6 separate regions of the Homo sapiens genome follow, and regions 1, 2, 4, 5 and 6 are each linked to region 3. Evidence: promoter capture Hi-C in 16 types of primary human blood cells and fetal thymus (Javierre and others, 2016). All regions are on one chromosome and are shown on one strand. The core of a region is centred on a gene start or on the middle of the fragment in contact, and the rest is flanking DNA. Distances in the headings are between cores, read along the strand shown. Region 1 overlaps DNAH6 (dynein axonemal heavy chain 6). Region 2 overlaps DNAH6 (dynein axonemal heavy chain 6). Region 3 holds the start of TMSB10 (thymosin beta 10). Region 4 overlaps DNAH6 (dynein axonemal heavy chain 6). Region 5 overlaps DNAH6 (dynein axonemal heavy chain 6). Region 6 overlaps DNAH6 (dynein axonemal heavy chain 6).

What was found. Contacts are between HindIII fragments. The CHiCAGO score rates a contact against its expected background, and 5 or more counts as called.
Region 1: a fragment that was not itself captured here is called in contact with the fragment with the promoter of TMSB10 in region 3 in 1 of 17 cell types (non-activated CD4 T cells); the score reaches 7.9 in non-activated CD4 T cells.
Region 2: a contact is called between a fragment that was not itself captured here and the fragment with the promoter of TMSB10 in region 3, in 1 of 17 cell types (non-activated CD4 T cells). The highest score is 5.4, in non-activated CD4 T cells.
Region 4: a contact is called between a fragment that was not itself captured here and the fragment with the promoter of TMSB10 in region 3, in 1 of 17 cell types (non-activated CD4 T cells). The highest score is 5.1, in non-activated CD4 T cells.
Region 5: a fragment that was not itself captured here is called in contact with the fragment with the promoter of TMSB10 in region 3 in 1 of 17 cell types (non-activated CD4 T cells); the score reaches 5.8 in non-activated CD4 T cells.
Region 6: a contact is called between a fragment that was not itself captured here and the fragment with the promoter of TMSB10 in region 3, in 6 of 17 cell types (non-activated CD4 T cells, naive CD4 T cells, naive CD8 T cells and 3 more). The highest score is 14.0, in non-activated CD4 T cells.

The regions. Positions count from the first base shown.
Region 1 is chr2:84,736,589-84,741,186 of GRCh38, reverse strand. The region is part of intron 62 of DNAH6 (dynein axonemal heavy chain 6); the gene reads right to left. Among named protein-coding and RNA genes, the nearest start is that of TRABD2A, 140 kb to the left of the region's middle. The HindIII fragment of the contact is 1,283 bases long and covers 812-2,094 here.
Region 2 is chr2:84,676,594-84,681,047 of GRCh38, reverse strand. It overlaps DNAH6 (dynein axonemal heavy chain 6), which reads right to left. Exons shown (of 77, transcript NM_001370.2): 41 at 3,912-4,043. Among named protein-coding and RNA genes, the nearest start is that of DNAH6, 160 kb to the right of the region's middle. The HindIII fragment of the contact is 4,438 bases long and covers 171-4,454 here.
Region 3 is chr2:84,902,701-84,907,621 of GRCh38, reverse strand. It overlaps TMSB10 (thymosin beta 10), which reads right to left and starts at 1,966. Exons shown (of 3, transcript NM_021103.4): 1 at 1,904-1,966; 2 at 1,505-1,619; 3 at 951-1,233. The coding sequence starts at 1,604. The coding sequence ends at 1,199. LOC105374836 (a long non-coding RNA gene) reads left to right here and starts at 601. Exons shown (of 2, transcript XR_940308.3): 1 at 601-959. LOC105374837 (a long non-coding RNA gene) reads right to left here. Exons shown (of 3, transcript XR_940309.3): 3 at 4,686-4,921. RefSeq lists enhancers at 640-699, 504-1,703 and a silencer at 1,670-2,209. The HindIII fragment of the contact is 2,703 bases long and covers 1,347-4,049 here.
Region 4 is chr2:84,721,315-84,725,905 of GRCh38, reverse strand. DNAH6 (dynein axonemal heavy chain 6) reads right to left here. Exons shown (of 77, transcript NM_001370.2): 60 at 3,102-3,281. Among named protein-coding and RNA genes, the nearest start is that of TRABD2A, 160 kb to the left of the region's middle. The HindIII fragment of the contact is 2,597 bases long and covers 2,027-4,591 here.
Region 5 is chr2:84,693,752-84,698,423 of GRCh38, reverse strand. It overlaps DNAH6 (dynein axonemal heavy chain 6), which reads right to left. Exons shown (of 77, transcript NM_001370.2): 46 at 3,944-4,175; 47 at 697-849. Among named protein-coding and RNA genes, the nearest start is that of DNAH6, 180 kb to the right of the region's middle. The HindIII fragment of the contact is 8,907 bases long and covers 1-4,672 here.
Region 6 is chr2:84,653,239-84,658,025 of GRCh38, reverse strand. DNAH6 (dynein axonemal heavy chain 6) reads right to left here. Exons shown (of 77, transcript NM_001370.2): 34 at 4,152-4,707; 35 at 3,244-3,366. Among named protein-coding and RNA genes, the nearest start is that of DNAH6, 140 kb to the right of the region's middle. The HindIII fragment of the contact is 209 bases long and covers 2,698-2,906 here.

The DNA of each region.
Region 1 (4,598 bases), core at 204-2,703, 170 kb after region 3:
GCAGGGAAAGGGGACCAAGGCTCTCCTATATATACCTAGGACAATGTCCAATGCCTTGCTACGAGCTGCTATGAGACTGAGACTTGAGTGGACCACACTCCTCACAGCTTCTCGTCCATGCTGCTCGCCTGAGAGGGGCTCCCCACTCTCTAGGTGCAAGCCCATGGCTGACACCATTTTGAGAGGTTAGAGCCATTGTTTGGTAACCTGGCAGCGGTGGCCACAGCAAGCATTTTGGTCTTAGGTGAGATTAAAGTGCTTGTTCTGGAAGGGGAGAAGGGTCCCCACAGGCAGAATTGAGCAGTGAGTGTGGAGAGTGCCCCAGTAGTAGGTGGTGGAATTACGCTCTCTCCCATCACAAGACTGGAGTGGGAGGAGAGTTGCTGAAGCTGAGGTTTTTCCCAGAGGGCAAGACTTTCAGTCAGAGACAGCTTTGCAACCTAGAACTGGTCTGCATGGGTCATAACGGGGTGTCCCAGCCTGTTTCCTTGGTCAGTTGGGGAACAGTGCCCCACCAGCTCTGAGGCGTGGGAGGGAGGCAGACTCCACTCCCCTGGAGATCTAACCCTTGCTGCAGACTGTCCCTAAAGGAGGGGAGAGTGCAGCCCACCAAAGACCCCCTTGGATAAAAGAAAACATGGGTGCAGTGCCAGCCACTGAAGGTGGTACCACCAAAGCCTGGGAATGGACATGGAGAGGGGGTCACACTTGCTCCGCCACCCTTCTTCTCAGTGCCCTGTCATGGATTTGGAAGTGACTCTTCACTTTGGAGTCTGGGGAATGCGGGTTGAAAGAGTCTGTGTCTCAAGCTTCTCCAGCAGCTCTGCCCTACTGAGGGTGAATGTGCTCTGCAGAGGTGCTTTTTGTACTTCTCTAGTGCTTCCACCCCTGCTTGTACCCATCAGTTCTTACTCTTAAGCACCATCTACTAGACTGCATCCTGAATTACGCCACCAAATAAAATTACATTGCTACAACAAACAACCTCTGAGAAAGTCACTGCATGAACCTACTTGCAACCAAGGAACCTGTACAGAGAGTTGGCACTCTGAAAGCACCTAGAAATGAAGCCAATTAATCATACACAATATACATCACAGTCATACCCCCAAGGGAAAAACGAATAAACAAGAAGCCCCAACCAAGTGATACCAAATTAAAAAAAAAAAAAAGAGAAGTATCAGCTCTCTCAGATGAGGAGTAACCAGTGCAGAACCCCAGCAATACAAAAAGACAGAGTGTTTCATCACCTCCAAAGGATCCCACTAGCTCCCAAGCAATGGATCCTAACCAGAATGAAATGTCTGAAATGACAGATATAGAATTCAGAATATGATGCAAAGAAACTCAATGAGATCCAGGAGAAAGTTGAAATCCCACACAAAGAAGCCAGAAAAATGATCCAAGATATGAAAGACAACATAGCTATATTAAGAACAGAACAGAAGATATGAAAGACAACATAGCTATATTAAGAACAAAACCAACAGAAGTCCTGGAATTGAAAAATTCGCATCAGGAAATTCAAAATACAAATGGAAGCCTTAACAACAGACTAGACCAGGCAAAAGAAAGACTTTCAGAACTTGAAGACCAATCTGTCAAAATGACCCAGTCAGACAAAAGTAAAAAAGAATTTAAAAAATGAACAAAGCCTTTGAGAAATATGGGATTATGTAAAGTGACCAAACCTATGACTTACTGGCATTCATGAGAGAGAAGAAGAGAGAATAAGCAACTTGGAAAACATATTTGAGGATATAATTCAGGAAAATTTCCCCAATCTTGCTAGAGAGGTCGACATGCAAATACAAGAAATCCAGAGAACTTCTGTAAGATGCTACACAAGATGACAATTCCCAAGACACACTTGGGGATGGATAGGAGGGATAGGACTAACCCAAGTCCACGTGAAAGAGAACTTTAAAGGCACCTAGAGAAAAGGGTCATGTTGCTTATAAAGGGAAACCTATAAGACTAAAAACAGACTTTTCAGCACAAACCTTACAAGTCAGAAGAAACTGGGGCCTATTTTTAGTATTCTTAAAGATAATAAATGTCAGCCAAGAATTTCATATCCTTCCATGCTAAGCTTCATAAATGAAGGAGAAATAAAGTGTTTCCCAAACAAGTAATCACCAAGGGAATTTTCCACCACCAGACTGGCCCTACAATGCATGCTTAAGGGAGTTCTCAATGTGGAAACAAAAGAATAATGCTTGTTACCATGAAAGCACATGAAAGCACATAGCCCACAGTACCCATAAAGCAACTATACAATAAAGACTACAAAGCAACTAAGCTAACAACATTATGACAGCAACAAAACCTCATATATCAATTTTAACACTGAACATAAATGGCCTAAATGCTCAACTTAAAATACATAGAGTATCAAATTGAATGAAAAAACAAGACCCATTCTTCTTCTATCATCAAGAGACCCAATCTCACATGTTATGACACCTATAGGCTCAAAGTAAAGGGATGGAGAAAGATATGTCACGCAACGGAAAACAAAAAAAAGCAAGGGTTACTGTTCTTATATCAGAATTTAAACCAACAAAAATAAAAAAGGACAAAGAAGGGCATTAAATAATGATAAGGGGCTCAATTCAACAAAACATCTTAAGTGTCCTAGATATATGTGTATCCAACATTGGAGTACCCAGACTTATAAAACAAGCACATCTAGGCTTAATGAAAGACTTTGGCAGTACACAACAATAGTCACACAACACACAACACCCCATTGATAGCATTTGATAGATCACTGAGGCAGAAAATTGACCAATTCTGGACATAAATTCGACATGACCATTTGGACCTAATAGACATCTACAGAATACTCTCCCTAACAACCACAAGATACCCATTCTTCTTATCTGCATATGGAACATACTCTAAAATTGACCACATGCTTGGTCATAAAGCAAGTCTCAATAAACACAAAAATATCAATATCATACTGAGCATCTTCTGAGACAACAGTGAAATAAAAATAGAAATCAATACACAGAAGATCTCTCAAAACCATAAAATTACATGGAAACTAAACAAATTGCTCCTGAATGACTTTTGGGTAAACAATGAAATCAAGGCACAAGTAAAAAACTTTTTTGAAACAGATGAAAACAGACATGGAATGTATCAAAACCTCTGGGATGCAGCAAAGCAGTGTTAAAGGAGAGTTTATAGCACTGAAAAACTACATCGAGAAGTTAGAAATGACATCGAGAAGTTAGAAAGGTCTCAAATTAACAAACTAACCTTGTACCTAAAGGAAATAGAAAAATAAAACAAATGAAACTCCAAACTAGCAGAAGAAATAAAAGAACTATAATCAGGGCAGAAATGAACAAAATTGAGACCTCAAAAACCATACAAAGGATCAATGAAACAAAAAGTTGGTTTCTCGAAAGGATAAACAAGATTGATAGACCATAAGCTAGATTAACAAGGAAAAAAATACAGAAGATCCATAATCATAATCAGAAATAACAAAAGTGACATCACAAATGATCCCCCCGAAATATAAAGGATCCTCAGAGGGTATTATGATGAGCATCTCTATGCACACAAACTAGAAAAATCTAGAGAAATGGATCAATTCCTGGAAACACACAACCTCCCAAGATTGAACCCGAAAAAAACAAAAATCCTGAACAGATTAATGATGAGTAATGAAGTTCAATCAGGAATAAAAACCTACCAACCAACCAACTAACGGAAAAAAAAGCCCTTTACAACCAAATTGTACCAGATGTACAAAGAAGAGCTGGTACCAATTCCACTGAAACTATTCCAAAAAATTGAGGAGGAGGGACTCCTCACTATCTCATTCTATGAAGTTAGCATCATCCTGATACAAATATCTGGCACAGACACAAAAAGAAAAGAAAACAAAGGCCAATATCCCTGATGAAAATAGACTCAAAAATCTTCAACAAAATACTAACAAACTGAATTCAGCAGCATATAAAAAAGTTAATTCATCATAATCAAGTGAGCCTTATTCTTGGGATGCAAGGATGATTCAACATATAGAAATCAATAAATGTGATTCACCTCATAAACAGGACTAAAATCAAAAACCATATGATCACCTCAATAGACGAGGAAAAGCATTTGATAAAATTCAACATCCCTTTATGATAAAAATCCTCAACAAACTAGGCATCAAAGGAATATACCTCAAAATAATGAGAGCCATCAATGACAAACCCACAGCCAACATTATACTGAAAGGACAATAGCTGGAAGCATTCCCCCATAAGAACTGGAACAAAACATAGATGTCTACTCTCACCACTCCTATTCAATATAGTACTGGAAGTCCTAGCCAAAGCAATCAGGCAGGAGAAAGAAATTTATCCAAACAGGAAAAGAGGAAGTCAAATGATCTCTCTTCACTAACAATATGATTCTGTCCCTAGAGAATCCTAAGGATTTGACTAAAAGACTCCTAGATCTGATAAATGACTTCAACAAAGTCTTATGATATAAAATGAATGTACAAAAATCAGTAGCATTTCTGTATACCAATAATGTTTAAGCTGAGAAACAAATAAAGAATGCAATCCCATTTAAAATAGCCA
Region 2 (4,454 bases), core at 1,140-3,639, 230 kb after region 3:
ACCCACCTGGAAATGAACAGAAACCCTCTCTCTCACTTTTATGGATGAATGACCACCACTCTCATAGACTTTCATCTTCATGTATATTTTAAATGCGACTTACTTGCAATGGTGAACTCCCTCACACTTCAGCTTCCCCATCTCAGTAGCTGGCCATTCCCTCCTAAGCTTAGATCAGGAGCTTGGAAGTCTCTTTATACACCTCCCATTTTCTGTCCTGCAAAATCAATCTTGAACACATTTCTTGGATCTGTTTGCTTCCCTCTGTTTCCCCGGACATCACCCCATCCTGGCCCCTACTCTTTTTTATCTGGACTTCTCCTCTCTCTCCTTCACTCTGGCCTCTCCATTTCCATTCTGGTCTCCCTGCTGGTCCACCCTTCCCCCAGCATCCTCACTTCACCCCTCCCTTCCATTGCTCCCCATGTCCCCGCCACACTAGTCTGAACACCCACACTCCTTCCCACCTCAGGCCCCTGCACTGCTGCTCCCCTCTTCCTGTGCCCAGCCCTCTCTGCTTGGCAGGTGCCCTTTCATCCTTCATGTTTTAGGTTACATGCCGTCTCTCCAGAGAGGCCTTTCCTGACCACTCAGTCTAAAACAAGTCCTCCCATCAGTCTCTTTGATCTTCTCATCCATAACATCACAACTTGAACATGTGTATTTATTAGCTAGTCCTTGACCCGCAAGTGCTTGGAAAAATCATTATTGTTTTTTAAATAGATAAATTCTTATTACCATTAACCCTGGAGTAACTAATGGGAGAAGCCACGAGAATGCATATCAATGGTTGCAAGTTAGTCTAATCTGAAGTTGTGACTTCAGATTTGGTGTCATATATGAGATCTTTTGAAATAAACCTGAGTATTTGTTTTCAGTGGGTCTCCTGTTTAACATTTGCTTTAACTTGTGAGGATGACCTCTTTAGGTATCCCCTCCTGGGACCCCAACATGAGTTTAACATACTCCACATGGTCTGTATTTTATGTAGGACCATCTCAAACCCAATCTTTAAATTTGATGAAAATCTGTCCATTTGTATGTGTATGATGGAGAATAGACAAGCTGATAATTTTATTTATATATATGTTATATGTATGTAAAAAGCTCCAGCCTTCTGTTCTCCATGACACAAATACAAATAGTTTCTAACATATACATGAGTAACTGTGTGTCTATATCTAGATATCTCATTCATCTCTTCATTATCTGTGTCCATGGAAGAAGATCCATGAGGACAGGGATGATACACCAATATCAGGCGTATGGAAGGTGCTCAACAAATATTTGTTTAATGAATGAATTAAAGGCTACTAAACTGGTATCCATACATTAAAATTAGCGTATCATTATAGAATTTACTGAGGACCACAGCCTAGTATTCTACTTAAGGATCTGGCTTACATGATCTGTTTGGCAACTTTGCAAAACTCTTACTAAGAACATGCACGCAAGATGCAGCCAGGTTTCTTAGTTTTGGGAGGATTCTTTGGCATAAGCACATTATCACTAGTTTATGGAGCTGATCACGGTTTTCAGTTACTGCGTTATAGCTTTCTAACTAGAAATTTCATTAAATTTAATTTACCTGGTTGTGTGCTGTTCGGTTTACCCTTAGAATGTATAGTGATGCATATTTTGGCACATAAATTTCCAGTAAGTAAACATTCAGGTTTGTATGAACTATGGTCTGAGAAAGAGTCACTTATAATGTACATATTCCAACGGTGCAAATCGTGTCTGGGCATTAGTGGTGCGCTCCCTGCATATATGCACTATTTAACTAATTTGCAACAGACTATCAAAGAAAGTACAATGATAGGACTAATCGTGTTAACACTAATAGGTTATTGAAAACATTATATATAATATACATGTACTATTTAGACTCATAGGCTTCTTTTATACAGTAGAAATAAATCTATTTATATATGTTGCTAAAAATAAATTTACTTTATTGATTTTGCTCTTCTTCAATTCTTGATTATATCCAAGTTCTTTTTCCTCCAAACAGTAATGAAGGACAGGACAGACGGGTGATGAATTCTTGGGTCCTGCTAAGGTGGGATGTGATGAAAAATGAAGTTTGAGATCCATGGGCCTAGAGCAAGTTCTTTTTTCCTACAGGCAAAATACCCTGTCCGTTGTAATGAGAGCAATATTCTTTCCCACCTGAATTCAGTCCAACCTGGTAGCCCCCAGAATCTCTCAGTTTTGCCACATATCATTTCTATTTCCCCTTATAGCTAGTGTGGGTTTTAAATGTAAACCTGTAAAGTTACAGTGGGAAGAAGCAGCCTTATCACAGCCAGTTTTTAGCTATGATGTGCTTGCTGGATGATGTTCCCATGGGTGACACATTTCCATGGACATGATAATCCCACAGGAGGTTGAGAGTTGGGGACCATGTCTTTCCCAGTGGCCCAGGCTTCACTGTATTCTTCCCACCCACAAAATGGAAATCATTCCATTTTGGAATGATGAAGAACGATGTTTTTGTAGTCATAAACCTGAATTTGCTTTAACTTAATAAAAAATGAAATAAATTGCAAATTCAGTCTCTTCTAACCAGGCATAAGTTTCTTGAGACACCCCTCACCACTCACCACATCACAGTGTATCTGTGGTGTGGTTGGGAATCACTCACTTCAAACTTCAAAATATAAATATAAAAGTTCTCAAAAAAGTGTGCAGGCCTTAGACAACCCTTCTAATGGCTTTGGTGGTTGCTGTTATGTCTTGTTTTATACTCTGGTGCTTAATTATAGGAGTGAAGCTCCCATCTTTTCCTATTTTCTAAAGCACTCTCCGAAAGTTTTTCAAAATGTGGCAGTTTTTATATACCATTTTGGCATTAGCTCCTAAACAGCTTATTGGAACTACTTCAATTTATTAAAAATAATTTCCCACAGAAATAAGCTATTTCAATACAAACAGAAAATTCCTTTCCATGTACTGAAGGTTGTATACATGCGGGGTCTGTCCCTCTTGAGAGAGGGCTTCTACTGGAAGAAGTTGATGCTGGTGAATGTGGAGGTTCACTTAATTGCCACATCCTTGGGCATCACTGTCCACGTCACTGTCATCAGCTTCTCCAGGCCAGTCACCTGAACTGTCTTATTCTACCTTTGTGCCCACCTTACCATTTCCTGCCTCTGCAGTTGCGTTCACCCAGCACTTCCTGTTCCTAAGATCTGTTCCTCCCTGTCAATTCCCAGCATCCCCAAGACTCAGCTCACAATCTCTCTTCTCTAAGCAACCTTTGCAGGTTGGTTATGCGGGGCTTTAGTCATGCTGCTTCATATTCTCTTACTGTTCTACTCAAAATAATGCCTCTCAATCTGTTGAGCACTTGTAGGGCAGGTGTTATTATTTTTCCCATATAAAGGATGGGGAAGTAGCCTATTAGGGAAGTGAGTACAGATGGACAAAAGATAGGTTATCATTCTTAGCGAGAGTGGCCAAGGAGATGAGTTCTGTTTTAGGTGTGTTGAGCTTGAGCTCTCTGGCATATCAGGTGCCAAGTTTGGTGGCAAGTGGACACGCAGACCTGGTGGTTAGGGATAAGATGAGCACAAAGGCAGGGGCTGGGTAGTGATGAGATCTGCCAAGAACTGTGTGTGGAGTGCTAAGTGGCAGGGACCTAAGATGCAGCCTTCTCTAAAGGTAGGGGTTTTGTCTGCACAATCTTTCTGCATTTCTAGAACTCTCTGAGACCAACAGATACAGAAGGCAGTGATGCAAATGCCTGCCAGCTACTCTCCAGGAGTCCATATTTACCTGCTTCCTGCTCAGGAAAGAGACGGATAGATGGACTCCTTAGAAACACAAGACACCACTTTGATTGTGGGAGCCTTGGAACAAATATGCTTTCTTTTCCTCCTGTTGCCTAAGTTAAAATCGACACTCACCTGAAAAATCTGTTTCAGACTGTGCTCTGAGGGCATTGGGAGGCACAGCATGCTGAAGTGTCTGATGAAGCGGGGAGTCACAGGGTTGCGGCCACCGCCTGGAGGTGCACATGCCGATATGATTGTTACATCCTGTGTGCAGAGAAATCCACTTGGATCACTCAGCAGAGAATGAAATGAGACCTGCCTATCCTAATGGTAGGACTTCCCAAATGCCAGCATTGCATTACATTTTTTTTTGTGCATGTTAAATGACTTAATTCTCACAATCACTCCAAGAGATCACTATAATTACACCTATTTTATAGATTAAAAAACCAAGGCCCTGGATGGTTAAGTAAGTTGCTCAAGGTCACTCAGCTAATTCATCTACTTTGTATAAATACCTTTATGTGAAACTGTAATCCTAAAAACTTTGCTATCTGAAGATAAAACATAGCCATTCTTTCAACAAATATTCATTATTCATGGTAGTTAAGTTTAGTAAAGTTGGCTGGAGCACTGGATTAGTGGTTACTGAACCACTGCTCCTAGGGTTAGGTT
Region 3 (4,921 bases), core at 717-3,216:
CCAGATTTTAAATTCCTCGTGGACAGGGACCGTATCTTATTCGAATTAACTGTCTTCACCCAGTGCCCAGCCTCTTGGGGCCGGGCAAAAATGTGGGACGAATCTCTAAGCAGTGTCCTATCCACCTTCCTTAAAGAAAACTCCACCCCTGTCTTTATAAGCCTGTTTCTTCTGCTTCTGAATGGCCTGCAGCCCCAGGTTCCCAACTGTCAGGCCCCCTTGGGCTGGTCCTATTCCTTCCCTGTGGGTTTGAGGTGTCATCCCTTGGAGCTTGGCCGCCAGCGCCAGCGCCAGCCCACCCTTCCTCCCTCCCACCACATCCCCACCCTTCCTGCTGAGCACTGGGTGGTAGCAGATCAGTCTAGCACTTCCTCTAATGGCTAATGTTTTTGTGGGAGGTTCTGAACTAGGGTTAAAAGACAAAAGCTCTTCCCCCCTCCCCTCCCCCAGTTCTAGTGTTGGTTCTTCTAGTTCTGACGTTCCCGTTGCTGTATCCCTAGATCCCGCCTTTGTTTTAAGCTCCCGAAGAAAGGCTTCCGGAGACTTTGTGACCTCACCCAATTTCCAACATTCCAGATTGTCTTTTCTTTCTTTAAAATCAGTGTTCCCTTCTGAGTCAGCTAGGAGGAGGCCAGAGGGAAACAGTGGGGCTTTCGAAGCTTATCAAAAGCAAACCTTGCTCTTTTGAAAAAGCATTTTCCAACGCAACCTGGGGACAAAGTGGGGTTAAATTTTACACAGATTGCTTACGAGCAAGAGTTAAGTGGCTAACAAGTCATGAAATCTTACGGAGAAGCAGGTAAAGCCAAAATTAAAAACTCCCTCCGAGTCAGCCCATTCTGCGACCCACCTCCTCCCCTTTGCGGCAGGAACTCTACTCCATCGAGGGGCTTTGCTGCAGTGGCACTGCCCACGCATACTCAACTAAAAGACTCAGACCACGCCAGCCATGCCACGAGGTGTGTTTTATTTTCATTATTCATACAAATAATTTTCTATAATATCCCGGGGCAAACCGGAGAATTTGGCAGTCCGATTGGGGGGGGGTCCCTTCAGAGACCCACAGGCCGGTGGCATCGGCGCGGAGTGCCCAGGTTCACAGTGCAGCTTGTGGCTCGTGTCCATCTTGCAGGTGGCTCTTCCTCCACATCACGACTGGGGTCTCGAAGAGGACGGGGGTAGGAAATCCTCCAGGATCTTAGGAAATTTCACTCCGCTTCTCCTGCTCAATGGCTGTGGAGAGCGGGAAGCGGGCGCTGGAGGGGAGCTGCAACCCCCACCCGCAACCGAGGTGCTTCCCGGTGTGGGCGAGGCACCCACGAGGTGTGGGGATTTAGAAGGAAGCTTGGGGCTGGGGAGAAACAAGGCGCTTTGTGAAACTGAAAGAGTGGCCGGGGCCGCCCACACCGGGGACAACGGCGGGGTGGGGGGTGGAGGAGTGGGTTTGCAAGGAAGAGCAGGGTGAGGGGCTGGGCTGGGGCGCGGGAGACCGAGGCACACTCACTCTCTTTGGTCGGCAGGGTGTTCTTCTCCTGCGTCTCCGTTTTCTTCAGCTTGGCCTTATCGAAGCTGGCGATTTCCCCCATGTCTGGTTTGTCTGCCATTTTCTTAAAACAATCCTAGTGGGCAAACCAAGGCGCTTGACCTGGGCCTGGGGGCCAGCGTCCCCTTCCGCGCTCCCCGCCGACGCCTCTCGACGTGGCACTCGCGCCAAGGCGTGCCGAGCAGCCCCAAGGCCGAGGATCTGGGCGCGTCCCGCACCCCTCTTCTCGGTCCCAGGGCGTGGTCGCCGGCCCCTGCGTCCGGTCCGAGAAGGGCGCCTGTCGCGGTTGCGGCGCGCCCGCCCGGTGCACCGGATCCGACCACACCCTGGGTGGGCCCCCCGCCCCGGCGCCGCACTCACCGTGCAGTCTCGTTCCGAGCCCGAGATCCTGGTGCTCCCACTCGCGTTGCTGCAGCAAGAAACAAAAGAGCGGCGCCCGCCCCTAGCCTTATATACGCCGCGCCCCGCCCCGCCCCTCACCCGCCGCAGCAGGGGCGGTGCTGGCACCCGAGGGGCGGGAGCAGCGCGGGCTGCTCCTCGCCCTGCCGCGCCCCCCGCTGGGCTACCAGCCCGGCTGGGCGCGGCTTCTCCCGCGCCGGGCACCCCCAGCTCGCAGTGTGCCCAGCGTGGGGGCTGTAGTCGCCGCCAGAGTGGGCGCCAGGCCCCCGGCTTTGCTTTTGCGGCTACATTTCCCCCTTTCCGGGAATCTGCTGCTCACCCCGCAGAAAGGATATGGGACCGGCGTGGGAGGGTGTGTGGTTTTGTGCGTGTGCAGATATGATGTGTAGCCGTGGGTGTGGATGTGCGGGCGTGCACGCGCACTCTGCAGCAATCCTCGCTCTAGGAGACGCCCCACCCCAGTCGCCCCCAGGCCTCTTGCTTTTGCTCCTCCAGAGTCCCCTTCCCTCCCCCACTTTTCCTCTCCTTAGGGAGGCTGAGTCCTAAGGTGGTCCTGCACTAAAAGAATTCGAGCCGAGGGTCCCGTAGTGGAGCGGGGGGCGGGGGGGTGTAGGGGGAGGGGGGAATAGGTTTCCAGCGCTCTTTGCTCAGGTTGGGGGCGGTTGCCTTCTGGTCAGTCGTCCCCTGTTCCCTGAACTGGGCGGTTCCAGCAGGATCGTTGGCGTGGCGGGTGTTCCTTAAATGCTGTTAGACGCATTGTGTGAAGGGCTGTGGTGGGAACAGGGCGTCCCGAGAAGGCTCGCAGTTTGCCTTTTCTCGTCGAGCTCCTAGAAACACTGTATCAGCGGGTGCGGTTTTCCTCCTTGAAGTTAACCTTGAGGATAATAGAGACCCACATGCCTACAAACGTTCTTGTTTTTCTTATTAACCCATTGTAGGAGTGGTATACTGCAATTATTCACATCTTTCTTAGAAAAGTTGTATTTTCAGCCTGTGCAACACCGTTAGGTAATAAGTTCCATAAATTACCAGCCCCGGAGTTAAGGCTGGTCATTCTTTTATTTGTCCTGACCTTTCCTTTTTTAAGTGTGAAGTATTACCGAGCTCTTTAAAGTGGGATTTGGTGGTGACATCCTAAATTCGGTCCTGATTTTATTTATTTACTTTTTTTGAGACAGGGTCTCACTCTGTCACCCAGGCTGGAGTGCAGTGGTGTGATCACGGCTTATGGCAGCCTGGACTTCCCCGGTTCAAGTGATTCTTCCACCTCAGCCTCCTGAGCAGTTGGGACTGCGGGCGTGCACCACCACTAGCGGCAAATCTTTTGTGTTCTTTTTGTAGAGACGAGATTTCACCATGTTGCCCAGGCTGGTCTCGAACTTCTGGGCTCAAGCCATCTGCCTGCCTTAACCTCCCAAAGTGCTGGGATTACAAGCCTGAGCACCACTCCCTGCTTCTCCCCTCCTGATTTTACCTGCTTTTCTCACGTTCCTTCAGTTTGGAACAGTGGGAAGAGAGCATAGGCTTGTGTGACCTTGGGCAAATCTTTTCCTTAGTTTCTTCATCTATAAAATAGCCTTGGCATAAACTGAGGTGAGATAAAGAAGAGGCATAGAGTGGATACTTTTTCTTTCTTTTTTTTTTTTTAGCAGGGTCTCTGTGCAGCGGTGGGATCACAGGTCACTGCAGCTTTTTTTTTTTTTTTTTTTTCTTTTTTGAGACGGATCTCACTCTGTTGCCCCGGCTGGAGTGCAGTGGTGCAATCTCAGCTCACTGCAACCTCCGCCTCCCGGGTTCAAGCGATTCTTGTGCCTCAGCCTCCCAAGTAGCTGGTATTACAGGCACGTGCCACCATGTCCGGCTAATTTTTGTATTTTTAGTAGAGACGGGGTTTCACCATGTTGGCCAGGCTGGTCTCAAACTCCTGACCTCAAGTGATCTGCCCTCCTTGGCCTCCCAAAGAGCTGGGATTACAAGTGTGAACCGCTGTGCCTGGCCTCAAGTGGATACTTCAAATAGCAACCTCATTAGAATATCACACTTATATTTGATGAGTGCATTGGTTAACTTCTGCTGCAATATGCCATGTAACAAACCACCCAAAGCTTAGGAGTTTAAACAATGATTTATTCTTGTTCCTATATGGGCAGGTCAGATGGTGCTGGGCTGGGCCGGGCTGAGCTTGGCTCCAGACTTTGTATTGGGTCTAGGTTTGCTCCACAGGTATCTTATCCTCTGGCTGATTCTTTGGTGATGGCAGAATAGCAAGAGGGTTGTACTGCAAGATAGTGTAGAAATGTTAAAGTGTCAAAGCCTGTCATATCCTGTCATGTTTGCTGCCATCCTATTGGTCAAGCCCACCATCAACAGAGTGGGGAAAATATTCCACCTATGGTAAGAGAGGGAGGGTAGTGAACATTTCTTGAATGAAAGTGGAACTTCACGTCAGGGTCAGCAAACAACTGGTAACACACAGCCCCCAAGGTGGCTTAATGCAATACAAGTTTATTTTCTTTTTTGTTTTTTGAGATGGAGTCTTGCCCTGTAGCCCAGGCTGGAGTGCAGAGGCATGATCTCGGCTCACTGCAATATCTGCCTCCCGGGTTCAAGCGATTCTCCTGCCTCAGCCTCCCGAGTAGCTGGGATTACAGGCATGCACCACCATGCCCGGCTAATTTTGTATTTTTAGTATGGATGGGGTTTTACAATGTTGGCCAGGCTGGTCTCGAACTCCTGACCTCAAATGATCCACTCACCTCAGCCTCCCAAAGTGCTGGGATTACAGGTGTGGGCCACCGCGCCCAGCCTACAAGTTTATTTTCTACTCATGCAGCAATATTCTGTGCTGATGTTGCTGGTCAGGCAATTCTTTTCCATCTAGTGACTCAGGAACTCAGGCCCCTTCTCTCTTGTTACTCTGCTCTCGTCTAGGTCCTTGAAGTCCACACCATCCAGCCAGTGGATGGGGAAAGAGGAGAG
Region 4 (4,591 bases), core at 2,076-4,575, 180 kb after region 3:
AGAGGACTCAGCCCTCTTTAACAACCTGACAAGAACCATAGAGGTTAAAGCCCAGTGAATATGTGATAATATGGTACCAAAATAAAACTGGTAAATCTCAAAATTCTCTAAAGAATTTCACTGTGAAATGGGTTTGGTAGAGGGTATCCTGGCCAAGGCTGTCACCTACAAATATGTTTTGGATTTCTGGTTTCCCTTCTAATCTGTAAAACTCCAGAGCTTTCATGATTCATCCTATATCACTTTTACTTTCAGCCCAAGATATTTTAGGGCCTTTTCACTTTTATTTCTTGAAGGAGATTTTAAAAACTTGAAGAGCATAAATTCCAAAACACCCAAGATAAGAAAAGTATTAACAAAAAGTCATTTAGGTGGCATTACAGGATTTGGTAATCCTTATTTTGCTTGGGTTAATACCTGTCAACTGAAGGAAGGGAGCAGAGATATAAGAACCCAAACCCTTGCCTCTAGGAATTGAGGTTTGAACCCAGCACAGATGGCTTTCAAAGGCTGCTAAAATGAACATCTTGTTGAAAGACAACCCAGGCCTATCTAAACAACTTGACTCCCATTTCTTTCAATTCCTCATTTCCATTCTTTCCTGGAAATAGAAACTGTTCCTGGACCTCCAACCATTATCGAGGGTACTAAATAAGACCTCTAGAGGAAAAATCAAGCTGTCATAAGAATTGTTTGACTATCTGAAGTTCAATAAGAATTGTTGGAATGTTATATGCAGAGATCAAAACAGACTCTTCATTCATGAAACACTCGAGCATTATGTGGTGCTAAGCACCATTGGGGATATGGGATTGGTGAGGCTTCATTTTTGCCTCCTGGGAGTTCAGGCTCCAGCAGGAGAGAGAAGCCAACCACCCAAGACAACGTGGGGTAACATTATGCCAGATGAAGCATATCAAATATTTTGGATAAAGACTGCTGAACCTGTTTGCTACTACTCCCATTGAGAGGTGGAGTCTAAATCCCCTTCTCTCAAACCTGGACTATCCTAGTGATTTGATTGACCAACAGACTGTAGCCGAATTGATGGTGCATGAAATCCAAGGTTAGGTCAGAAGAAGTCCTGGAGCTTCCATCTTGGTTTCTTTGAACGTTTACTTTGGGGAGAGGCCCTCTTGGAACCCAGTTGCCCTGTAGTGAGAAGCCCACGCCACAAGGAGAGGCCATGGCAGGTGCCATGAGTGACAGCCCAGCCATGTGAGTCAGCCATTTTGGATGTTCATTCCAGTCAGCCTCTAGATGTTTGCAGTCCCAGCAGCAGGCTTTGCTGGAGAATTTAGGAGAATTTAGAATGCAGTCCCAGCAGCATTTAGGTTGGGAGGAAGGCCATTTTAAACAGAGGGAGTGTCAGAAACACAAAAGCATCCAGTTAGTCTTGGGAATGTAAGTGGATCAATTTGGCTGTTGCACAGGAGTTGAGAGAAATGTGACTGGAGAGATGAAACAGGGACAGGCTGGATTTGGCTTTGAATTCCAGGCTATAGAGTATGAATTGTGTTGATGGGCAATATCTGTGAAAATTCATTTAGGACCTAGGTCTGTGGAACAGTGTTTTGAAAACACTAGGACTAGGCTGGCCTGGCTTCCAGGTGTGTGAGCCAGCATTGACTATACAGGGGCATATAACAGGAAATAGAGATGTGTTGCAGGGAAAAAGTGTTATGTTTACAATTCTCCACTGTTTTCTACTGAGTGGCATGTATGGAGGGAGAGGCCTTCGTTGGCTGAGTTGTGTCATGGGTAGGGTATAAGCATGGATGAACAGAAAAGTGAGAGTAAGTTAAACTGCTCTGCCCAGAAAAGGAGACAGCACTGCCAACAGGAAGTAGGAGCTGATGGGAAGACTGAGCCAGGGAGGCTTTGGTCGGGTGGGCTGAGAAGAGGCCACTGGCACCTGAGAGAACCTCTGATGCAGATGCTTGGTAGTCTTGCTGTATAGTGAGTAATGCAAACTCTCTGTCTTCCCTGGAAGTCTTTAGCAAAATTGGCATTGCCTGCTGAAGCTTTGTGGCATTGAATTTGCTTTTGAGAAAAAATGAATGCTGCTACAAAGAGGATAAGGGGTGAAAACATCCTACTCATGAGACAGCAGATGAAATTCAACTGTGAATATGAGATAAAGAAGAGAGGCTGAAATAAAACAAGAGAGTCTCATAGTCACATGGTGAAAGTGGGACAGAAACAAAGGAAAGAGATCCCTCTAAGTCAGAAGTGGGCGCAGGGAAGGAAGAACAGGTTGTTGCATAAAAGGTTTGGGAAATAAAAGATACATAAACCAATTTGGTTAAGGTCAGTGCTGTTTGGACTTGAGATACAACAGAAAACACTAATAGTGGAAAGGAATCTAGATTACTGCAGAGGATGTCTAAAGAAATGGGACTCAGCTGTGACTCTTAAAAAAGAGAGAAGGGCAGGCATGAAGGAAAACAAACATGCTAGCTAGTTGAGGAAGTCAGGAGCAAATGAAACTTGCAAAGGAGCTTTCTTCTCTTCCTCTACAGAGTGTTCTGTGCATACTGGGCAATCAAATCTTTAAAAAAAATTCAAATTTTATATATACCTTTTATATATATATATAATAATCACTAACTCTACTCTAAAAACTGCATCTTTGGAAGGGCTGGTGAAACCACTCTTTTTTATTTTTTATTTTTTTTGAGACAGAGTCTCGCTCTGTCGCCCAGGCTGGAGTGCAGTGGCACGATCTTGGCTCATTGAAACATCCACCTCCTGGGTTTAAGCAATTCTCCTGCCCCAGCCTCCCGAGTAGCTGGGATTACAGGCACCTGCCACCACGCCTGGCTAATTTTTGTATTTTTAGTAGAGATGGGGTTTCTCCATGTTGGCCAGGGTGGTCTTGAACTCCTGACCTCAGGTGATCCACCCACCTCGGCCTCCCAAAGTGCTGGGATTACAGGTGTGAGCCACCATGCCTGGCTGGAACCACTCTTGAACCTTGCATGCACCTGGGAGATTTTACCTGATAACTAGACTTATGGCTTATGTGAAGCAAGAAGTAATTCAACAGGTGTAATGGAGGCCAAAGAGATGACTGTCATTAACAACATGAACACACTTACCTGTTTAAAGTATTTTAATGAGTACTGGTACATAGGATCTATTTCTGAGAGGCTTGCAATGACAAAGTACATTACAGAGCCTTGAGTGGCCACTGGACGATACTTCTCACGAGCCACATTGATCATCTGCTCAGTGGACTCTGCTTCTTCCAGCCTGGTTTTAATGGCACCAGAAGTGATCTGAATAAACATACAATAACAAGTTCTTAGGGATCTGTTCCAGAAAAATAGTGGGACTTCTGGAATGTATCCAGTTAGGTCTAGGGAAGAAATAAGGATAGAATGAGTTGGTGATTATAATAAGGGGTCCCCAGGTGGAACGACTGAGTCTCAGGGCTCAGTGACCTTCTGAATAAGCTGACCTTTCTTCCTTCCAGAGTTAGGAATAGGCAGAGGGCAGCAGGCAATACAAGTAGCTTTGAAAACATAGAAGCAGCATGTCTCTGAGACTCAATCTGAATTACTCCTGCAATGCAAACACCATCACAGCACTCCTAATTGCTCCCGAACTTCTTTGTGAGCAGTCCAGGGCAAGCACAATGAATAAAGGAATGAAAGGAGAAGGGATACCCAGGAAGATGCCCAAAAGAAGGGAGTAGAGAGTGGCTGGGAGGCAGTGGCACCACATCCCTCCCTGGAATAACAAGGGTGACTAATATTCTTGTTCTTTACCTAGTATTCCCAGGTATAGACATATGGGATAGAAGCTGTTGTTTGTGGAGGATTATAACCCCAAATGAGTTAGCGATGCTTTCAAGGTCTTTTGGTTTTCTGCATTTTGGGTTTGTGGGTCTGGGGAGCCCTCTGGCCAATGGGCCTTCCAAGATTCCCTTCTCTATGTCTCTCAGTCTCTCTCTTTCTACTGCTGTCTGCCCCTGCCTCCTCTCTCTTCCCCCACTGTTTTTCAGAGGTGGATATCCCTGGGTTGGGAAATCCTTTTCTCTCTAGAAAGTCAAAGGGTCTAGAGCAGGGACCATGAAAAATCACCAAGGGAACTGACTGCTCAGTATTTGCTCCATCAAAGCTAAAAGGAATCATCAAGTTCCTGTATAGACCAGTGCTTTCCAATGGAAATATAATGTGAGCCACATAAATAATCATACATTTTCTAAATTTATTAAAGATAAAAAGAAATTTTAATAGTATATTTTTAATCTACCCAAAATATTATATCAACATATAATCCACATAAAAGTTACTGAGATATTTTGTTTCTTTGGATTTAGCCCTTGAAATCTGTTGTGTATTTTACACTACCAATACATCTTAATTCAGGCTAGCCATATTTGAAGTGCTCAACAGCCACCTATGGCTAGTGGCTACCTACCATAATAAAGAGTATAAGTCTAGACTATTTACCCCAGCCCACCAGGAAAGGGAGGGGAAGGATTCAGTGCAGAAGCTGTTTCCAGGAATCAGAGATCAAACTCTCCCTGTAATAACCCCTTAGGGAGCTGAAGGGGAAATAAAGGGCAGAGTTGAGTAGGAAA
Region 5 (4,672 bases), core at 453-2,952, 210 kb after region 3:
TTCAGTCTGGAATTTCTTTCTTTGGCCCTTCCAATGATTCTGTGTCCCTTTAATAAATCCCTTCCTGCTTACATTAGCAGAAGTAGACTTGCATCTGTACCTATAATCTCCGACCTAGCAGGAGAGACAATTCTCACAAAGGGAAACAGTAAAGATATAAGAAAGAACAGCCAGAAACTTAAAGAAGGTGCAAAAACAAGGAAAAAAGCTGGGGTGAACAAGTAGTGGTGTATGGGATCTAGCATGGTGCTGGAGAATGGAAGTGTACAGCAGCCACACTGTTCCCGAGAGAGTGAGAGAAAACACATTCCTGCTTTGTTGTGTCATAACATTGCTGCTAGGCAAGGGCATCAACAATGCTGGACCTATGCCTTCAGCCCGCCACAGGTAGGGTGCTGCAGTGTGTGAAATAAACTGGTGCTTAAAGAGGAATAAGAGAGGCTGGCCAGTTTGGACAAGACTATGACCTCTGTGGGGCAATGGGATTTCTGTTTTCTGCTTCCCACAGAACTTTCTGGAAGTCTGGTGACCCAATGCTTTAAACACCGAAAATAAAATACATCGAATACAAAGGAAACCAATTATATTGAAAAAAATTTTATTCATGGACCCCTTCAGGCAATCAATGAATGGTTAAATAAAAGGTGAAGAAACGTTTTTGTGATAAAGCCACATAACTACTCTGGCACATCCTACCTCGTCTCTGTTCCCCTCAGAAATTCCTACTTCTTTTGCTCTTGGTCTGGTGGCCGCTAAAACCTGCTCCAGTTCATCCTTTTCAAATAAATTAGGCACTTCACCTGAGTTCAGGATGTTATTTATATCTTCTAGGAACTCCTCCACTACAATCTGTAGAAGAAAGCAGTGATCATTACAACTTGCTCAATCATTTTCCATTTATTATAAAGCAAATATTTATTCTAAAATTCACATGAATCAATTTCATCTTTAAGAGAAGATAATCTTAAAAATTTCATGGAACCCTGAAGTTCTAACATAGCAAGTACACTGATTTTTCATTTTTCCTTTGTGTTTTGTTTCTTAGCAGGCATTCCCATTTTACCTTGGTCAAGTCATATGTGCAAGTATTTTATATTCTGCCCCTTTCAGTTACCATTTTATCATTAATACTAACCCATAGTTCTGTAATGTACTCATCATATTTATCAAAAATATAGAAGCAGAATGCACCATTGAGCTGATGCACCATACATTTGCACGGACAGAGATAGTTTACAGTCTTGTTTACATTATAAGAACAATTTTAGGCATATATCTTTTCCCCTTAGTTGGATTATTTTCTTGAAACAAATTCCCAGGAGTGAGATTACCAATTAAATGCACAAATATTTTCTGGATTTTGAAGATTTTACTATTTCTCATTCAATTCAAGTGTGACTTCATCAATTTTTAACATTTATTTTTGTTAATTTGGGAGATATAATAAATGCTTTCTTTTGGAGAATTTATTTTGGATGTTTTTGATTATTAGCAAGGGAAAATATTATCCCACATTTATTATTGTCCATTAAAAAGTCAGTCTAAACTTTGCAACCACCTGCATCTTGGAGTTTTCTTTCAAATTTGCATGAGTAATTTACATATTTTGAAATAGACTTTTTGTCTTTCAACATTGATGCAAATATTTAAAAGCAATCTCTCGTTTACCCTTTATTTCAGTTAACTTTTTAGTTATATAAAAGTTTGAGTACTATATATTTAACTATGACAAGATATCTGTTATTTTGTTTTCTTCATTTGAAACTTTTTGTTTTTCTTAATGAACTTGGTATAATTGTGTCTGTCAATTTTCCCCAAGAGCAAACACTAGTTTTCTGTGTTCTAATTTATTTTTGCTTTATCTTGTTCCATTTTCTTATGTGTCTTGTGACATTTGTTCCCTCCTAAAGTTTTAAGTAAACTAATTTGTGTAGTTTCTAATTTTTGATTCAAATCTACAAATGTAAATTTGAGAACTGCTGGGTTGCATTCCATAGATTTTTATTTATATTAAGTTCATTTTTCTTAGTCTCTAAGAGATTTTGACTTTCTTGATCTTTATATGAATGTTTTAAAGTCCTAAGACACATCATTAATTTCTCCCTTAATTAAAGCATGGGCAAAGAATGTTACGAGTACAGCTTATGCTTTTAACAATTTAATAAAAATTTCTTTAAATCTAGTATATGATTAATTTTTGTAAACATTCAGTAGTATTAGAAAATATTTGCTTTCTCTGTAAAATATGAAATATAGTATATAGCTATTAATTGTAGCTTAGAAATTATATTATGTAAAATATCTAATCATAGTTATTTCTACTTTGTATTTGTTAAGTTACAGCCAATTAAACTCTATTTTTAACATCTTGTTTCTCTCAATTTCTTCTCACATTTATAATGTTTTGTGTATATATAAGTTCATGTATAGACACATGCATTTTTATTTTTATGGTTACGTTTACTCTTCATTATTGTAGAACATTTGAGATTGATTGGGGCTTCCAACAGAATGTAGTAACTTTTTGTCTAAAGAGAAGCAACACAATATGACTTGATCTTTGGAGCTTTAATACTTGGAGACTTTTTACATAACTTGTTTGATTTTTAAAAGCAATGTTAAAAGCACTATCAGAAATATCTTAATTTTAGGATAATCAGAAACTACAGATAAGCAACTAGACAATAAAAATCACTCACAATCCCAAGATTCAAATGTTTTCTCTTTGTACACAGGGCATACATGTCTAGATATACATTAAAATGTGGATGCTTCTAAAATATAATTTTACAGTTTTTACACAGTGCTCTAGTATATGGTTATATCAGATATTATGTATATGACTTTCTCTCACTGGACATTAATACTCTCTCAGATTATTATTTAAAAACATTACAATAGATATTCTTATACATGCAACTTTGTACATAGCTTTGAGTATAACGTAAAAGAAATGTAAAGGCTTTACCTACATATTGCCAACTACCTTCCAGAAAGATTTTGCTAATTTATAATCTCCCAGTGAAGAATAAACAGGCCTATTATTCCCACACCTCTGCCAACTCTGTATATTATGATTTTTTACCATTATCAACTTGCAAGGCCAAGTCACTCGCATTTTTATTTATTACAATTTCCTTCATTAATGGTGAGGTTGAAAATTTCTTCAGGTGTTTAAAGCCCTTTGTTTTCTGGAACTGTGTATTCACATTCTATCACATTTTTTCTATTTCTTCTATAGATGTGCTTGACTTTTCCTTTTTCATTTGTGATAAGTATTTTTATAATAAGATATAAACTCATTGCATGTCATAGATACTAAAAATATTTTTCCAATTTTTTCTTTGTATTTAATTCTGCTTACAATATTTAAAACATTTATGCATCAAATCTATCACTTTTTTATTCGTTGGCTAATTTCTAGATGGGTTTATTTTCTCTAAAGAAAAAATACCCAAGAATAATCAATGTAGAAAGTCCTCTGCTATAGAATTAATTCAAGATCAGTTAATTTAGCTGTTGTAGATATAGATGTAATCCTACTTCAATTTTAAAGGTAATTTAACCCAAAAGATAGCCCTTACTTTTTCCTTTCTGTAGGTAAAGTCATGTTTCCCTAATTGAATTTTTGGTAAATTATTTTCTTATATGCACTTTTATAGTTTATTACCTTCTGTTATCTTTGCCTTTTCCCTCAAAGAAAAGTTAAAAACTTACCTCCTCGACCTTTGATCAAATTTAATTACTAAGAATTTAAAGAGGGAAACAATACTTGGTAAAATAAATAAAAATGTATTATAAAAGTCTTTTACAAGCTGCAGGAAATCTGTTATCAAAGGGAACAATCCCCTTGAACTTCATCCTACAAACTGTTCAAAGCACACACCCGATTGTAACACCCATACATTTCCTGTTCTCACCCATGGGCTATTTAAACACACACCTGGGTGTCAGTGAAAAGGAAAACCATATTCTTGTCTTCTACACCAGCCATTTTGTACAACTTCCTCAGGTCTTCATGAAAACTATCATAATTATATCCCCGGCTGAGTTCAATCTGCAAACATTTGTAACCGCATATATGAGCTGCAAGTCTCGTGAGTGACTGCTTTCCTGTGCCTCCTACTCCAACAAGCAGGGCATTGCCTCTTTCTTGACGTATCATCCGAGCAATCCTGCAAACATCAGAGCAGAGGGTTTATTTCAAGTTCACAGACATGGCTCCTGCTCAGAGAGCCTGCCCCAGAGCCAAAGGCTGGTGGCCAGTGGAGCCTCCTCCCTGGGCAGGATGCTGCAAGGGAAGAGCAGGCTGCATCTGAGGCCAGGGTTTGGTGAACAGCACTGCTGGGCTTTTCTCTTTTTCATTCTTTCCCCCATTCCTAACAGGCTGTTGGGTCTCGGCCCTAGTCGTACAAATTTAGAATAAAGTAAAATCTCTTTTTCCTGAAGTCTGAAGGACTTTGTTGGAGACCCTAGCCGATCTAGGCCACAACTTATATTGTCAATTGCTAAGCCCAGGTTTCCATTTATAAGAATGAGCAAGCAGAAAAATCACTGAACCTAGAAAAAGACACCACAGTGCAGAAGGAGAGACCAACAGAACACTTTGAAATGGATTTACTGCAGGATACCAACAAAATTTTAGAAAGTTTCTGATTCATGTTAACAGGAA
Region 6 (4,787 bases), core at 1,553-4,052, 250 kb after region 3:
CTTAAGCTGTCAATACATATTTCATGCACTCTTCTATACTGATGTTCTTTCACAATTATTAACAATGAAAAAGAAGAAACACAGAAGACAACATTTTAGTATCTATGTAAGGTAGAAAAATAATTTCCAAATATTTAAAAGTGAATTCAGCCCCTCTCACTACTCTTATTCAACTTTGTCCTGAAGTCTTAGCTAATGCAATAGGACAATAAAAGGAAATAAAAGGTATACAGATTGGGAAGGAAGAAGTAAAACTGTCTTTGTTTACAAATAACATAATTGTCTATGTAGAAAATCTACCTAAATTGACAAAACAAAACAAATAAAACTGGAACTCATAGGTAATTATAGCAAAGTTGCAGGATATGAGGTTAACATATACAAGTCAATCATTTTGTTATACACCAGCAAGGAGCAATTGGAATTTGAAATTAAAAATATAACACAATTTACATTAGTGCCAAAATAAATTAACTATAAATATGTACTAGATCTATATAAGACAAGCTATAATACTCTGATGAAAGAAGCTAAAGAACTACTAAATAAATGGAGAGAAATACCACATTCATGGATAGGAAGACTAAATAGTCTTAAGATGTCAATTTCTCTGATGTTATCTATAAATTCAACACAATCTCAGTTAAAATTCCAGCAAGTTACTTTGTGGATTAATTGACAAACTGATTCTAAAGTTTATATGGAAAGGCAAAAAACCCAGAATAACCAACACAACAAAAAAGAACAAAGTTGAAAAACTGACACTACCCAACTTCAAGACTTACTATACAGCTGCAGTAATCAAGACAGTGGGTTATTGTTGAAAGAATGGACAAGTAGATCAATGGAACAGAATGGAGAGCACAGAAATAGACCTGCATAAGTACAGTCAATTGATTTTTAACGAAAAAGCAAAGGCAATCTGATGGAGAAAGGACAGTCTTTTCAAAAAATGGTGCTGGAACAACTGGATATACACATGCAAAAAAACAAATCTAGACACAGACCTTATACCCTTCCTAAAAATTAACTGAAAATGGATTATAAATGTAAAGCAAAAAATATACAGTTTTTAGAAGATAACAGGAGAAAATCTACATGACTTTGGGCTTGGTGATGACTTTTTAGGTATGACACCAAAGGCACCATCCATGAGGGAAAAAACTGGTAAGTTGAATTTCATTAAAATTAACTTCTACTCTGTGAAACACACTGTTAAGAGAATAGAAGATGAAATATTTATACAATCTGAAGAGAAACCGGAGTATTGTTAAGAAAATAAAAAGACAAGCCATAGACTAGGAGAAAATATTTGCAAAAGATATAATCTGATAAAGAATTGAATTCAAAATATATAAAGAACTCTTAAAATTCAACAATAAGAAAACAAACAACCCAATTTCAAAATGGGCCAAAGACCTTCCTTAATAGGCACCTCATGAAATACGATACATAGATAGCAAACAAACATATGAAAAGATGCTCAAACCATTTGTCATTAGAAATTGCAAATTAAAACAATATACTACTACGTGCCCATTAGAATGCATAAAATCCAAAACACTGACAATGCCAAATGCTGGCAAGGATGTGAACAACAGGAATTCTCATTCATTATTGGTGGGAATGCAAAATGATACAGCCACATTAGAAGACAGTCTTGACAGTTTCTTACAAAGCTAAACATATACTAAATAATTCAGCAACCACATTCCTAGGTATTTACCCAAATATGGTGAAAACTATGTCCACACAAAAACCTGCACATTAATGCTTATTAAGAGTTTAATTCATAATTGCCAAAACCAAGATGTCCTTCAGTAGGTGAATTGGTACATGAACTGTGGTACATTCATACAAAAAATATTATCCAATGCTAAAAAGAAATAAGCTACCAACCCACAGAAAGACATGGAAGTATCTTAAATGAATATTACCAAGTGAAAAAAAGCCAGTCTGAAAAGGCTATGTACTATATGATTTCAACTGTATAACATTCTAGAAAAGGTAGAACTACAGAGATAGTAAAAAGATCAGTGGTTGCAGGGGTTAAAGGATGGGGAGTAGGGATGAATATGTAGAGCTTAGAGGAATTTTAGAGCAATGAAACTATTCTGCCTGATACTATAATGGTGGAAACGTGACATTATGCATTTTTCAAAACCCATGAATTGCACACAAAGAGTGAACTCTAATGTAAAATAATAATGTATCAATAGTGGTTCACCATTTATGCAAAGTGTTAATAATAGGCGAAACTGTTTGGGGGTGAGGGAGTGCATGGGAACTCTCATTTCTGTTCAATTTTTCTATAAACTTAAAACTGCCCTAAGCACAAAAATGTCTGTTAATTTTTAAAAAAGTGAATTCAGAAAAGTTAAAAATCTTAAGGTAGCCAATGACAAACTCTCAATTCTGAGAATTACTGTCTTTAATAAGGTACTCTGAGACTAGACCATAATATTCTTAAAACTGTTGATGCCTAAAAAGGAGGAAAACAATAGTTTTCTGGCTCATCTTTGGAGGGGGAGAGGCAGAGATGAAGATGGCTTACTTGGAGTAGGGGATGAGATGTGGGGGAAACATCTCAAAGGACTACTTGTTAAGCTAAGCTAAAGAGGAAAATTCTGTGTTAGAATGCAGAAGCTACAGAAAGTAGTATGAAACTGAGTTGTTTTGAATAACAATGTATAAGCTTTCCTTCACTTTGGGTGGAATTGTACCTCTGAGGTTAGAATGTGTCTTAGGTCTTGCACCTACTATTGGGGTAGGATGTAAATGAGTTTTCTTTTATCTTTGGCTGTCATAGGTGTTAAGGGCTCTCAAAATCCAAAAACAATGACAGTTAGGGTCTGGACTTAAATATTCTTTTTCTTCATTTTGCTTCCTTTTATTACTCCCAAGCTTTCTGCGAAGTCTCAATGCCTCAGGCTGTTGTAGCTGTGTTTTTAGGGACTCAAAAAAGTGGCTTGTGTTTCTAGTCTGGGGAGAAGCCAGGCAGAATAGGCAGGAGGCAGGGTGAGTAGGCAGGCTGGCAGGCTGGGGTAACAAGAAATGAGGACAGATTTGGGGAGTATATAAACATTCCTGGACGATTCCAGGAATTCACAGGGAGGACTAGGTAAAATAATGAAGTCCCCTCAATCAAGAACCATGAGTCCTTAACCTATTGTTATTTGTGCACTAGAAGGCAACATGAGTCCTGACAGATGGAGATATTGGGGAATATCTGATGGCACTTACTTTTTTAGAAATACCCTTCATCCAAGTTTTAACATAAGGCATCCATTTCAGTTCTTCAGGATCCACAAACACCATTCCACATCGACTGACTGTTGCAGGGGAGGCAACCCGCAGATCTTGCACCTAAAGTTGAAGAAAATTGAACAGGAAACAGCTAATATGATACTTCCTTATTTCTCCAACTTCAATGTTCACACTTATAAAATGATTCACACTTTTAAAGTCTAACAACACTGAAGGGCTTCATGTGGAAGAGAGTGGGAGAGCAATAAGTAATTAGAAATGGAGGAAGAAAGTTAAATGACGTATAAGGTGAAAAAAATTCCCACAACTACAGGAGGATACTGTCAAACTCTATGGGCAGGGCTAGTTATTTTTTTCTTTCTTCTCTTTGCTTTTCTCTTTTCTCCTGTTCATTCTTGTATTAGAATCCCTAGCACATACTAGACATTCAATCAGTATTTGATGAATGAATAGAACACAGGTGGCATCCTTCATAATGTTGGTAGCTGTACTTGGTCCACATTCCTCTCCCAATCCCTCATCAAATATTCATATCATGGTGGGATAATTTATTCTTATTAAATGCAATAATTTTTAATTTAAAATGCATTTCAAATGATACAAAGCTCTCTCTCTCTCTCCTCTTTCTTTCTCTCTCTCTCTCTCTTTCTCTCTCTCCCTCTCTCAGGGAAGCCAGAGTTTATTGTACTTCCTATTTATAGAGACAAGAACATTTGAGACTTTGACTGTCAATCTATTACAAAAGGATGACTTAATAAGTAAGTAAACAGAACACAATAATAGACATTATAGATAGTAAAGGCTACATCAGTGTGAGAAAAAAATGTAACGATAGTATGCCAATTTAATGAATGATTTCACTCCACAGTAATGTGTACACTTACCTCAAAAAGCATGTGAATTTGAGGTGTGAGTTTAATCCTCTCACTGTTAGCCAGGCAAAGCATCTTGTTATCATCCAGCACTGTATTCATGTTTTCAATCCAAAGAGCATCTACTGGCCCATCACTGATGATCCATTTATGGTCTTCTGAAGTATCATTCACAGCTGCTCGGACACTTAGTGCCATCAAACCATCTTTCCATTCCAAGGTTAAGTTATTAACCTCTCCATATAATTCACCCATGGTAATTGATTTAGGGTTGAGAACATATGTTTTAACTGCTTGGTAAAAGGAATTTTCTATCCCAAGTTTTTGTAAATTCCCTAAAGTTTCTGCTAGTATTCGGTAAACTGTGGTCTTGCCGCCTCCTGTTGGCCCGACTAACATAACACCATGCCTTACTAGCATAGTTTCATAAAACTGTATCACCTTTCTAACCATACACATCTCAGGCTGAAGATTTTGTCTATTCATGACATCCACAATTGTTGATTGTAAAATACCATAATCATGTTCTGGAATTTGGACTCCAGGAAAAAGGTCAGATATGATTCCACTGTCAAAACAAAAATAAAATCAATTAGGAACAACTGGTCATTGATATTTTCCCGTATTTGTTACAATCAATGAAATATT